3 separate regions of the Homo sapiens genome follow, and regions 1 and 2 are each linked to region 3. Evidence: promoter capture Hi-C in 16 types of primary human blood cells and fetal thymus (Javierre and others, 2016). All regions are on one chromosome and are shown on one strand. The core of a region is centred on a gene start or on the middle of the fragment in contact, and the rest is flanking DNA. Distances in the headings are between cores, read along the strand shown. Region 1 holds the start of PSMB2 (proteasome 20S subunit beta 2). Region 2 holds the start of SMIM12 (small integral membrane protein 12). Region 3 holds the start of CDCA8 (cell division cycle associated 8).

What was found. The method cuts DNA at HindIII sites, captures the fragments that hold promoters and counts their contacts. A CHiCAGO score of 5 or more calls a contact.
Region 1: a contact is called between the fragment with the promoter of PSMB2 here and the fragment with the promoter of CDCA8 in region 3, in 4 of 17 cell types (naive CD4 T cells, naive CD8 T cells, fetal thymus and 1 more). The highest score is 9.0, in naive CD4 T cells.
Region 2: a contact is called between the fragment with the promoter of SMIM12 here and the fragment with the promoter of CDCA8 in region 3, in 6 of 17 cell types (naive CD4 T cells, total CD4 T cells, activated CD4 T cells and 3 more). The highest score is 8.9, in naive CD4 T cells.

The regions. Positions count from the first base shown.
Region 1 is chr1:35,639,942-35,643,206 of GRCh38, forward strand. It overlaps PSMB2 (proteasome 20S subunit beta 2), which reads right to left and starts at 1,585. Exons shown (of 6, transcript NM_002794.5): 1 at 1,401-1,585. The coding sequence starts at 1,491. RefSeq lists enhancers at 560-1,525, 1,314-1,773, 1,526-2,490. The HindIII fragment of the contact is 1,783 bases long and covers 611-2,393 here.
Region 2 is chr1:34,857,992-34,861,291 of GRCh38, forward strand. SMIM12 (small integral membrane protein 12) reads right to left here and starts at 1,758. Exons shown (of 2, transcript NM_138428.6): 1 at 1,686-1,758. RefSeq lists a silencer at 1,580-1,709. The HindIII fragment of the contact is 6,874 bases long and covers 1-2,438 here.
Region 3 is chr1:37,690,429-37,693,947 of GRCh38, forward strand. CDCA8 (cell division cycle associated 8) reads left to right here and starts at 2,088. Exons shown (of 10, transcript NM_001256875.2): 1 at 2,088-2,356; 2 at 2,477-2,605. The coding sequence starts at 2,263. AIRIM (AFG2 interacting ribosome maturation factor) reads right to left here and starts at 101. Exons shown (of 5, transcript NM_001350770.2): 1 at 1-101. RefSeq lists enhancers at 829-1,339, 1,340-1,849, 1,622-1,811, 1,850-2,360, 2,361-2,869 and 1 more and silencers at 1,142-1,201, 1,222-1,391. The HindIII fragment of the contact is 4,527 bases long and covers 232-3,519 here.

The DNA of each region.
Region 1 (3,265 bases), core at 335-2,834, 2.1 Mb before region 3:
ACCTTATAGATGTTAGCTCTAGGGCACGGAGTTAGAGAAATTTGCTTAAGGTCACAAGTGGCAGAACCTGGGTTCAACCTATGCAGTGAGTCCAGACATTTTGCCCCTAAGTACTATAATATACTATACTATACTATACTATACTATACTATACTATACTATCTATACTAAATTACTCAATACATAATTTTAAGAAGATTTTGGTTGTTTTTCTGCAGAATCTAAGTTTGTTTTCCTTAACTGATCAAAGACGTGCTACTGTTGAAAAAGTATTAAGCTTTGGTTCAGATGACTTAATGGTCATTTGACAAATATGTTTGGGCACCTACGTACACTTAGTATTATTAAGTACCTGCCTAGTGCTAAGGATTTGCACATAACTCATTTACTAAATCCTCCCGACAAGTTTGTGAGTTTGGTATTGCTAATCTTAAAGATGAGGAAATCTGGGCACTGCAAAATAACTTATACAAACTCATAAGGCAAATAAATGACAGGGCTCCAATCTCTTAACTCCATTAACTACTTAAATATAAGGAAAACCTGGCAGCCATTGCTCTGGAAAACTGGAAAAGAAGAATCGGGAGCCACGGGAAGAAGGAAAATGCCAAGCTTCTGGTCCCACAGTCTCACTCTCCCCAGGATCCCACCTTATGCCGCCAACAAACTAACCTCATTACTAGCGACACCAGGAAACTTATCAGAGATTCGGGGATCTAGAGAGCCAGTCCCACAGTCTCACTCTCCTCAGGATCCCACCTTATGCCGCCAACAAACTAACCTCATTACTAGCGACACCAGGAAACTTATCAGAGATTCGGGGATCTAGAGAGCCAGGCTCTGGGCAGGCGCTTAAACATTTATAAACTGATTCCCTTTAGGCAACTCTCACCAAGCAAGAAGCATTTAGCGAAGGCCAGAGCAGAGCACTGACCCAGGAGCCCTGGAGGAGCAAATGCCAAGGTCCCAGACCTGTCTGCCTGTTTCGCCTGTAATCCCAGCACTTTGGAAGGCCGAGACGGGCGGATCTCCTGAGGTCGGGAGTTCGAGACCAGCCTGACCAATATGGAGAAATCCACATCTCTACTAATAATACAAAAATTAGCCAGGCGTGGTGGCGCATATCTGTTCCCAGCTACTCGGGAGGCTGAGGCACGAGAATCGCTTGAACCCGGGAGACAAAGACTGTGCTAAGCCGAGATCGCGCCATTGCACTCCGGCCTGGACAACAAGAGCGAAACCCCTCTCGAAAAAATAAATAAATAAATAAAATAAGTACGGGCAGGGCAGGCCGGCTTCCATCTCTCAGATCCTCCCTGGTACTTATTCAACCCCCGACAAACTCCTTCTGGCCGCTCCTACACCCCAGGCCTGGCCGGGCCTCCCCTGCTTCCTCTCACCGTCCTTCATCTGGACAATATTGCTGGCGGCCACCCGGTCGGAGGCGACAAGAACATAGTCGGGGCCTTGGATACCGATGAGGTACTCCATGGTGGCGGAAGGCCAGGGGCTGCAGGTCCGACACAGCACGAGACTCGCCCGCTTCCAGGTCTCACCGGTGAGACAGCACCTCAGAGCGAAGATTGGCGCGACGCCTGCAGCACGACTTCCACGGCGCTCTCGGATGACGTACAACTGTCGCGAGAGGTTGCAAAGCGGGCGCGGCGCCGGGTGCCTTATGTTCAGTGCTTGTCTCTGGGATCGTACGGGTCTCCTCCGGAGCAGGCTGTGCAGGTCACTTGCCTTATGTGACGCCCAGTTTCTCTGTTTACACACTAAGATTTTAAAAGTGGCTTTAGGATAAAATCACGCAGTGTATGTAAGGTGCCGAGCACGTGTGGGTGTCAAAAAGGGGTAGGTAGCCAGGCAGCCGTTTCCCTACGTTGCTCGGTAAAATCTCCCCAGAAACCCCTTTCCTGCAAGCCAGATTGGAGAAAAATTAACTTGAGGGGAGCCTTACTTCCATCCTTCACAAAAATAGTATATGGTTGGATTAAAGATATAAGCATGGCCGGGCGCAGTGGCTCACGCCTGTAATCCCAGCACTTTGGGAGGCCAAGGCAGGCGGATCACCTGAGCTTGGGAGTTCGAGACCAGCCTGACCAATATGGAGAAACCCCGTCTCTACTAAAAATACAAAATTAGCTGGGCGTGGTGGCGCATGCCTGTAATCCCAGCTACTCTGGAGGCTGAGACAGAGAATCGCTTGATCCCTGGAGGCGGAGGTTGCGGTGAGCACTCCAGCCTGGGCAACAAAAGCGAAACTCCGTCTCAAAAAAAAAAAAAAAAAAAAAAAAAAAAAAAAAAAAAAAAAAAAGAGAGGGAGAGAGATACAAACATGGAAGAAAAAGTAGAAAAATATTTCTGTAATTTTTGGAAGAGATGTGTTTCTAAGCTTGACAGGGAACCCAGAAGCAATATGAGAAAAGACTTGACAGATTTGACTACCTAAAATTACACGTCTCTATGTGGTGAAAGTCATTATCATGCTCAACAGTAAATGTAAATTGGGAATGTTTCAATTGTAGAAATAGTTACTATTTTGGACCTTATAGACAGAAGAAAGGAAAAAGTTAATATCTATAACTTAAAAGATATTCCTACAAACCAATGGGAGGGGAGCCGGGTGAGACAATACCATTTTTAAAAGACCCGGCAGGGCACGGGGGCGGATCAAGAGGTCGGGAGTTCGAGAACAGCCTGGCCAATATGGTGAAACCCCGTCCCTACTAAAAATACAAAAAATTAGTTGGGCGTGGTGGCAGGCGCCTGTACTACTCCGGAGGCTGAAGCAGGAGAATTGCTTGAACCTAGGAGGCGGAGATTGCAGTGAGCCGAGATAGCGCCCCTCCACTCCAGCCTGTGCAACAGAGAGACTCCATCTCAAAAAAAAAAATAAAAAATAAAAAAAGACCAAAGACTAAGAAAAACAATTCACAAAAGAAGCAACACGAATGGCCAATAAACATGAAAAGATCCTCAACCTTGATGGTAATTAGGAAAATGGGAAATAAGAAACAATGAGAAAGTATAAATTGGGGGTAAGGTTCTAAGTTGTACAACCTTTTTATAGAGAACAATTTTAATATCTGTTAAATATGCATAACCTTTTGAATATGTCCAAAAGAAATGTTTGGACACACAGTCCAAATATTTGTGTACCGAGATACTCAGTGTTGCCAGGGGCAGTGGCTCACGCCAGTAATCCTAGCACTTTGGGAGGCCAAGACGAGCGGATCACGAGTTCAGGAGTTCGAGACCAGCC
Region 2 (3,300 bases), core at 508-3,007, 2.8 Mb before region 3:
GCCAGCTTGCCCACCGCTCACCTCCTGCTGTGCAGCCCAGTTTCTAATGGGCTGAAGACCACCACTGGTCTGTGGCCCAGGGGGTTAAGGACCCCTGCAATAAGGCAGCATCATGAAATTTAAAAAAAAAAAAAAAATTGCAGCATCTCCAAGACTCCCCCGCTTATTGTCTCAGCACCAGGCACTATGATGACAATTTACACACTAATCATCATTTGATCCTCATAACACCTCTATGATGTAGGAATTATTAGCCCAGACTCTTGTGAAGGCCACAAAGGCTCACAGACATTATGTTAACTTATCCAAGATCACTAGAAGTGATAGAGCCACTGATTTTGAACCCAGGCCTCTCCAATTTCAAAGCCTACACTCTTTCTAGTGGGAAGAACACACTGCAGAGGTATACGGTTTCTGTCCAAACCCTGGACTTAGGGAGAGCTTCCTACAGTTTTTTCCCATCAGCCTGGCATTTCATTACCTAGAAGAGCTTTCCTTTTCCCAAACTCTGAGATTGTACTCAGGGATTTATGAAATTCAGAGACATAGTAATAGTTAAAAGAGGCACCTCTGAAGAATCCCAAACCTAATACTTCTCCATTTTACTTCCACCTTTAAAGCAAGTCCTCTGTATAAGTAAATGCTTCCCTAAATAGCAACTGTCCGTTCAGATTTCCAAACCTGTCTTAAAACATATCGCGCATGAGTTCACAACTATCTCTCACATGCAGCATAAAGTCTCTCGCTACCGTCCTGCTCACATTCTAATCATTCCCAAATAAGTCAATTCATTCCTTTATTCGACACTTATAACCACTTACTCTGTGTCAGGCACGATGCTGGCTTACCCTGTCTGCGTTTCTCAAGACACTTTAAGCTCCAAAAGGCTAAGAACCGTGTCTGTCTGGCCCAATTATGCCCTATCCATCCAGGCACCTCTCCTACCCTGCCTGGCAGAGTGCCCAAAAAAGGTCTGCTGAACGAATGAATGACAGCCCAAACTCCCTAGTGTAAAATCACAACATCCTCCACCCACTCTCCCCCAAAAGGTGGCAGGAGCATAACAGATGCCTTTGCTGATTACAAAAACCTAAAGACTCCATCATAGTCGTCCCCAGGCAGGGTATCACAATGAAAGAGGCAAAAGTGTCTGAAAAACACTGTGACGCATATTTCCAGCCCGGCATGGAGGACGTCTGCCAAAAGCATCCGGTAAAGGTCAACTGGGCTGCTGGGAAACCTGCCCCAGTGCGAGGGCCCGGAGGCCCAACGAGGCCAGAAGCCGTAGTCCCAAATTCAAGAACTACTAACAAGGACACAGGAGGCCTGAGAAGGCGGAAGAATTAGCCCTGACAGTCACTAGAGCGCAGTCCAGGAATGGGAGCGCAAGTAAGGCGAAGGTCCATCCAAATGGCTACCCTTCTCCCTTCTGTGAGTCTCCCGGTCCCCTGTCCCTAGCCCACCTCATTCATGGCCTCATCAACGTCCGTCCTCATTGAGGTGCCGAGAAGCCCTGTCTGCGGAGGGCTACCTGGGCTCCCAGACTTGGCACCAGAACACCCGCCAGAGAGGGGAGCTGGCAGATCTGGCCGGGACCGGGGTGGACCCTAGCGATCACTCCTCCCGTAACTCAGAGGTTACTGGCCTGGGCTGACCCGACCTGCTCGCCGGGACCGCGCGCTCACCTGCGGCCCAGCCCACACTCCCCAGTGCGGCCCCCGCTCTCCGCCCGCTCGCCGGGAGCACGGAAGTCGCCGCACCCAGCGGCCCGCGGGACCTTGCCCTGTGACCCTGCCCACTGGCCGCCGGCTCTCTCGGAGCGCAGGGATTGGCTGAACTTCAGCCAAAGGACGGAAGGAAGCTAGGCGTCCGCAACTGGGCCCCACTGCGCTGAAATGGACGTCGCGCCCTCTGTTGGCCGGGAGGTTTCTCAGTGATGTCGCCACGTGTTTTCTGCGTGGAAAAAGTGAAAGATCATCCAGTCATTTTTTTCAACTGATGTTTATTAGGCGTCTTCTAAGACCTAGGTCTGGGCACGCAAAAACAAAAGACATGATCCCTGACCTCAAGAAGCTCTTCTTAGAAGAGTATATTTTAGTGCTTTAAGACCTCTTGGGATCCGGGCTAGCTTTCTAGTGACCTTGGGAACATTATTAACCTGTCTGAGCCTCCCTTCCCCTTCTGTGTAGAGGTAATAACACCCATTTCGCAAGGATGGTGTGAGGGTTGGAAGAGATAATATTTGTAAAGTACTGTGGCAGGCACACAGCCAGCAGGGAAATAAATGTGGCTATTGTTAGTGTAAAAATAATTCAAATATAGTAAAACCTAAGTCTTACATGACCTCTTGGGTACAAGTATTCACTTCCTCCTCTGTGTCCCCACTGTACCCTATACAGACATCAATTTTATCATATACAGAAAAGTCCCAAAGCTCAAGCTTGTTAATGCTCCCACAAGGCCCTTCCCACCCTCATCCCACTAATCTCAGCCTGCATATTTATTTTGCTCGCACATACTAAACCCGGCAGACCACACTGTTTCACACCTCAGTGCCTTATTGATGCTTTTTCATCTACCTTCCCACCTTTTTTGTTGTTGTTGTTCAATTTCACTCTTGTTGCCTGGGCTGGAGTGCAATGGCGTGATCTCGGCTCACCGCAACCTCCGCCTCCCAGGTTCAAGTGATTCCCCTGCCTCAGCCTCCTGAGTAGCTGGGATCACAGGCATGCACCACCACGCCCGGCTAATTTTGTATTTTTAATAGAGAAGGGGTTTCTCCATGTTGGGGAAGCTGGTCTCGAACTCCCGACCTCAGGTGATCTGCCCGCATCGGCCTCCCAAAGTGCTGGGATTACAGGCGTGAGCCACTGCGCCTGGCCGCTTTTTTTTTTTTTTTTAACAGGACTCTCGCTCTGTTGCCCAGGCTAGAGTGCAGTGGCACAATCATAGCTCACTGCAGCCTCAACCTCCTGGGCTCAAGTGATCCTCCCACTTCAGCCTTCCGAGTAGCTGGGACCACAGATGCACACCACCAGGCCTGGCTAATTTTTGTACTTTTTGTAGAGACTGGGTTTCACCATGTTGCTAGGGCTGGTCTCGAACTCCTGAGCTCAAGCAATCCGCCCGCCTCAGCCTCCCAAAGTGCTGGGATTACAGGCATGAGCCACCGTGCCTGGCCATGTAGTGCCCTTCCCACCTTTCTTTACTATGCCAGATTGTGCTCTGGCACAATTTTCAAGCTTAAGGGTCACCTCCAGAGGAAGCCTCATACATAGACTGCTTATCACATTAGACACC
Region 3 (3,519 bases), core at 838-3,337:
GGTCGCCTTCCTGAAAAAGCGGAAAAACTTAAAAGTCCAGACAGCCAAAGCGTGAGAACCCTCCAGGGACTGCACCACGCGCCCACAGTCTCTCTGCGCATGCTCACACGCGACCTCCCCACAAAGCTACTCCGCGGGCCTGCCTGGCTACTGAGTCGCGAAAATATATCGTAGTGCCGCAATGACTTCTGGGTACTGTAGTCCAACATGTGGACTGGCCACTCGGCTTGAAGCTTCCTTGGGATTGGATGTTGGGACCGTCCAAACACGGCGACTTCTCATTTGTCAGCCTGCGGCAGTTTAAATTGGGTGGCGGTGGTGGCATGTCCTGTTAGCTGTGGAGTCTTTTCCTCTTATCTTGCGCCTCCGGTTGTGCCTTAATGACACTTTTGACATTGTGTATCACAACCAACTGGCAAAAACTAGTAAATCACGGGCTCCTGACGTGGCAGCTCTGGCTAAAATGCAGGTGGACGTCCTAGGTGCCCAGGGAGTTCGGGCTCACTGGGGAGTAGGGTGAAGGAAACCCTGAAACCGAGAGGCTGGAAGCCCGACTTGCGCAGCATAAAAACACCTGCAGGGGGAAAGCCTACATGAGGTACGGGTTGTCATCCCGTCTCATCTTGGCCATCTGACTGATGGAGATCCTCAGGCACCCAGCAGACTGGGGTGTCACCCCCACTACCCACTGCCCAGGGCTGACCTCGGGCGGAAGAGCGACATTCAAATATTTGTTGCATATGGAGCAACAGACCAGGGTGGAAGAGAGAGAAAGGACTTTCCAGGAAGGTCCAGGCTTGCCAGGACTTCTATGCTTGGACTGCTCTGTCCCCAAGCTCGCTGGTGCCCATCAGGAGCCTGCTTGGCACCTTTGCTTATTTCTTCGATTGTTCCTCAACTCAGAGGGGGAGAGGCAAGATTATCACTCCCATAGCCTATAACATGCACGCTTAAACACAACCCCTCTGACATGGCTTCAGACCGCATCCACAGGTGAAAAGCACCAAATCCAAACAATCAGGCCACAAACCCGTCAAGAGCTCGCCGGTCTGGCCGTCCAGTCGCCGCCCGCCTTGAGACTCAGCCTGAGCTACAGCTTCGAAACTAGCCTCTAGCCTTCTGGGTCTCAGCACAACTCTTGAGCAATCCAACCCTGTGGCCGTGGGCAGATACCAAGATGCACAGTTAGCACCTCCGACAGGACCGCGGCTCGGCGGGGCTCGCCGTCTACACGCCCATTCCCAGGCCCACGGCCACGACACCCAGAGCTGCCTCCTGCCCTGGGCTCCCTGGAGCCTGGTGGCCGCGGCTCATGCTGCAGTCACCGTGTGGCCAGCTGCCAAGCGCCACTACTTGCACCTGAAGTCGCAGCCCCGCGCTGCGCACCCAGTCGAGGCGCCAACACGCGAACTGGGCGGGAGTGGCCGGCCCGCGGGGGAGCGAGGAACGACAGGGTTCCCCCCACTCGCTGCCCAGACTGGCCGCGGGATAGCGCGCCCCCCCCAAAGCCTGCACCCCTGCCCTGCTCCTCTATCATTCCGTCCCCCTTGCTCTGTCAAACCCTGCCGGGGCTGCTCTGTCTCTGCCGACCCGCCACTTGCCCGAAGTTCGGCCTGAGGAGCTTGGGGCCCTGAGGAGCGCCGACGTAGGCAGCCAGCCAGTCAATCAGTCAGAGGGTCACGGCGGCCCCTCGGCTACTCAGTGGCAGCCAGGCCAGAAAGAAGCAGCCGCCAACCCTGGAGCAGAATCCTACAGCCGACCTGACCTAGTAGGCCCCCAGCCCTCCAGAGCTTGGGGTATTGCAGAGCCGCCACAAGGCCTGCCGGGAGTAGTAGTTTGTATAGTTCGCAGCCGGCCAGGGCGGAGCCGGGTGGGTTGGTGGGGAGGGCGGGGAAACAAGCCTGGACCACAACTCCCAGGAGTACCCGCGACGGCGGCGGCCTCGCTGTCGCACTCAGGCTATAGGGGGCGCATTGGGCGGAAGACCCTGGGCCGGCAGGAACTTGCTTGTGATTGGATGTTGTGGGACGGCGGCTTCTCATTCGTCAGCCTGTGACTGTGGAGTTTGAATTGGGTGGCGGTTGACTGTAGAGCCGCTCTCTCTCACTGGCACAGCGAGGTTTTGCTCAGCCCTTGTCTCGGGACCGCAGGTACGTGCCTGGCGACTTCTTCGGGTGGTCCCCGTCCGCCCTCCTCGTCCCTACCCAGTTTCTTGCTTCCCTGCCCCATCTCCGCCGCTCCCCGCAGCCTCCGCCGAGCGCCATGGCTCCTAGGAAGGGCAGTAGTCGGGTGGCCAAGACCAACTCCTTACGGAGGCGGAAGCTCGCCTCCTTTCTGAAAGACTTCGACCGTGAAGGTAAGGGGCCAGGCCGTCGCGGCCTCCTGGGGCGGTCGCGGGATGCTGGCGGGTGGGGACACGAGCTGCACAGATTCGCCCGCCCGTGACCCGTGTCCTGTCGGCTCTGCCCTCCCGCAGTGGAAATACGAATCAAGCAAATTGAGTCAGACAGGCAGAACCTCCTCAAGGAGGTGGATAACCTCTACAACATCGAGATCCTGCGGCTCCCCAAGGCTCTGCGCGAGATGAACTGGCTTGACTACTTCGGTAAGAGCTGGAGAGCTTCCCTGGGCGGAGGCCAGGAGCCCCTTGGGGTTAGGTGACACCCTTCAGAAAGGGCTCGCTCAGATGTCACCTTTTAATGAGATCTGACATGACCACTTATGGAAAATTGCAGACCCTTTCACTCTCTGTCTCACTTCCCTACTTCATTTTTCTCTATGAAAAATGGGGGGGTGGTTGGGGGGCGGCGGGCGGGGCGGTCTCTGTCGGACAACTCAGCTCTGCTGTTTACAGGTCCAAAACAGCTGTAGTGAATGGGCATGGATGGGCTGTATTCCAATAAAATTTTAGTTATGGATACACTGAAATGTGAATTTCACATAATTTTCACACATCAGGAAATTTATTTAATTTTTTTTAAACAGAGTCTCACTCTGTCACCCAGGCTGGAGTGCAGTGCAGTGCAGTGGTGCGATCCCTGCTCACTGCAACCTCCACCTTCTGGGTTCAAGTGATTCTCCTGCCTCAGCCTCTGGAGTGGCTGGGATTACGGTCGCCTGCCACCATGCCCCGCTGATTTTTGTATTTTCAGTAGAGACGGGGTTTCACCATGTTGGCCAGGCTGGTCTCGAACTCCTGACCTCAAGTGATCCACCTACATAGGCCTCCCAAAGTGCTGGGATTACAGGAGTCAGCCACTGCGCCCGGCCAGAAAATAGTATTTTTAAAAATATATGTATATTTTACCCATTTAAAAATGAATGAATAAATGACATGGTTAGTTAACCAGAGCTCAGATAGAAGAATAACCCGAAGCAGCTCCTTCTGCAGCTTATGGAAATTGCTAACCTAAAAATGGGCGCATCAGGCTGGGCGTGGTGGCTCACGCCTGTAATCCCAGCACTTTGGGAGGCTGAGGCGGGCAGATGACCTGAGGTCAGGAGTTCGAGACCAGCCTG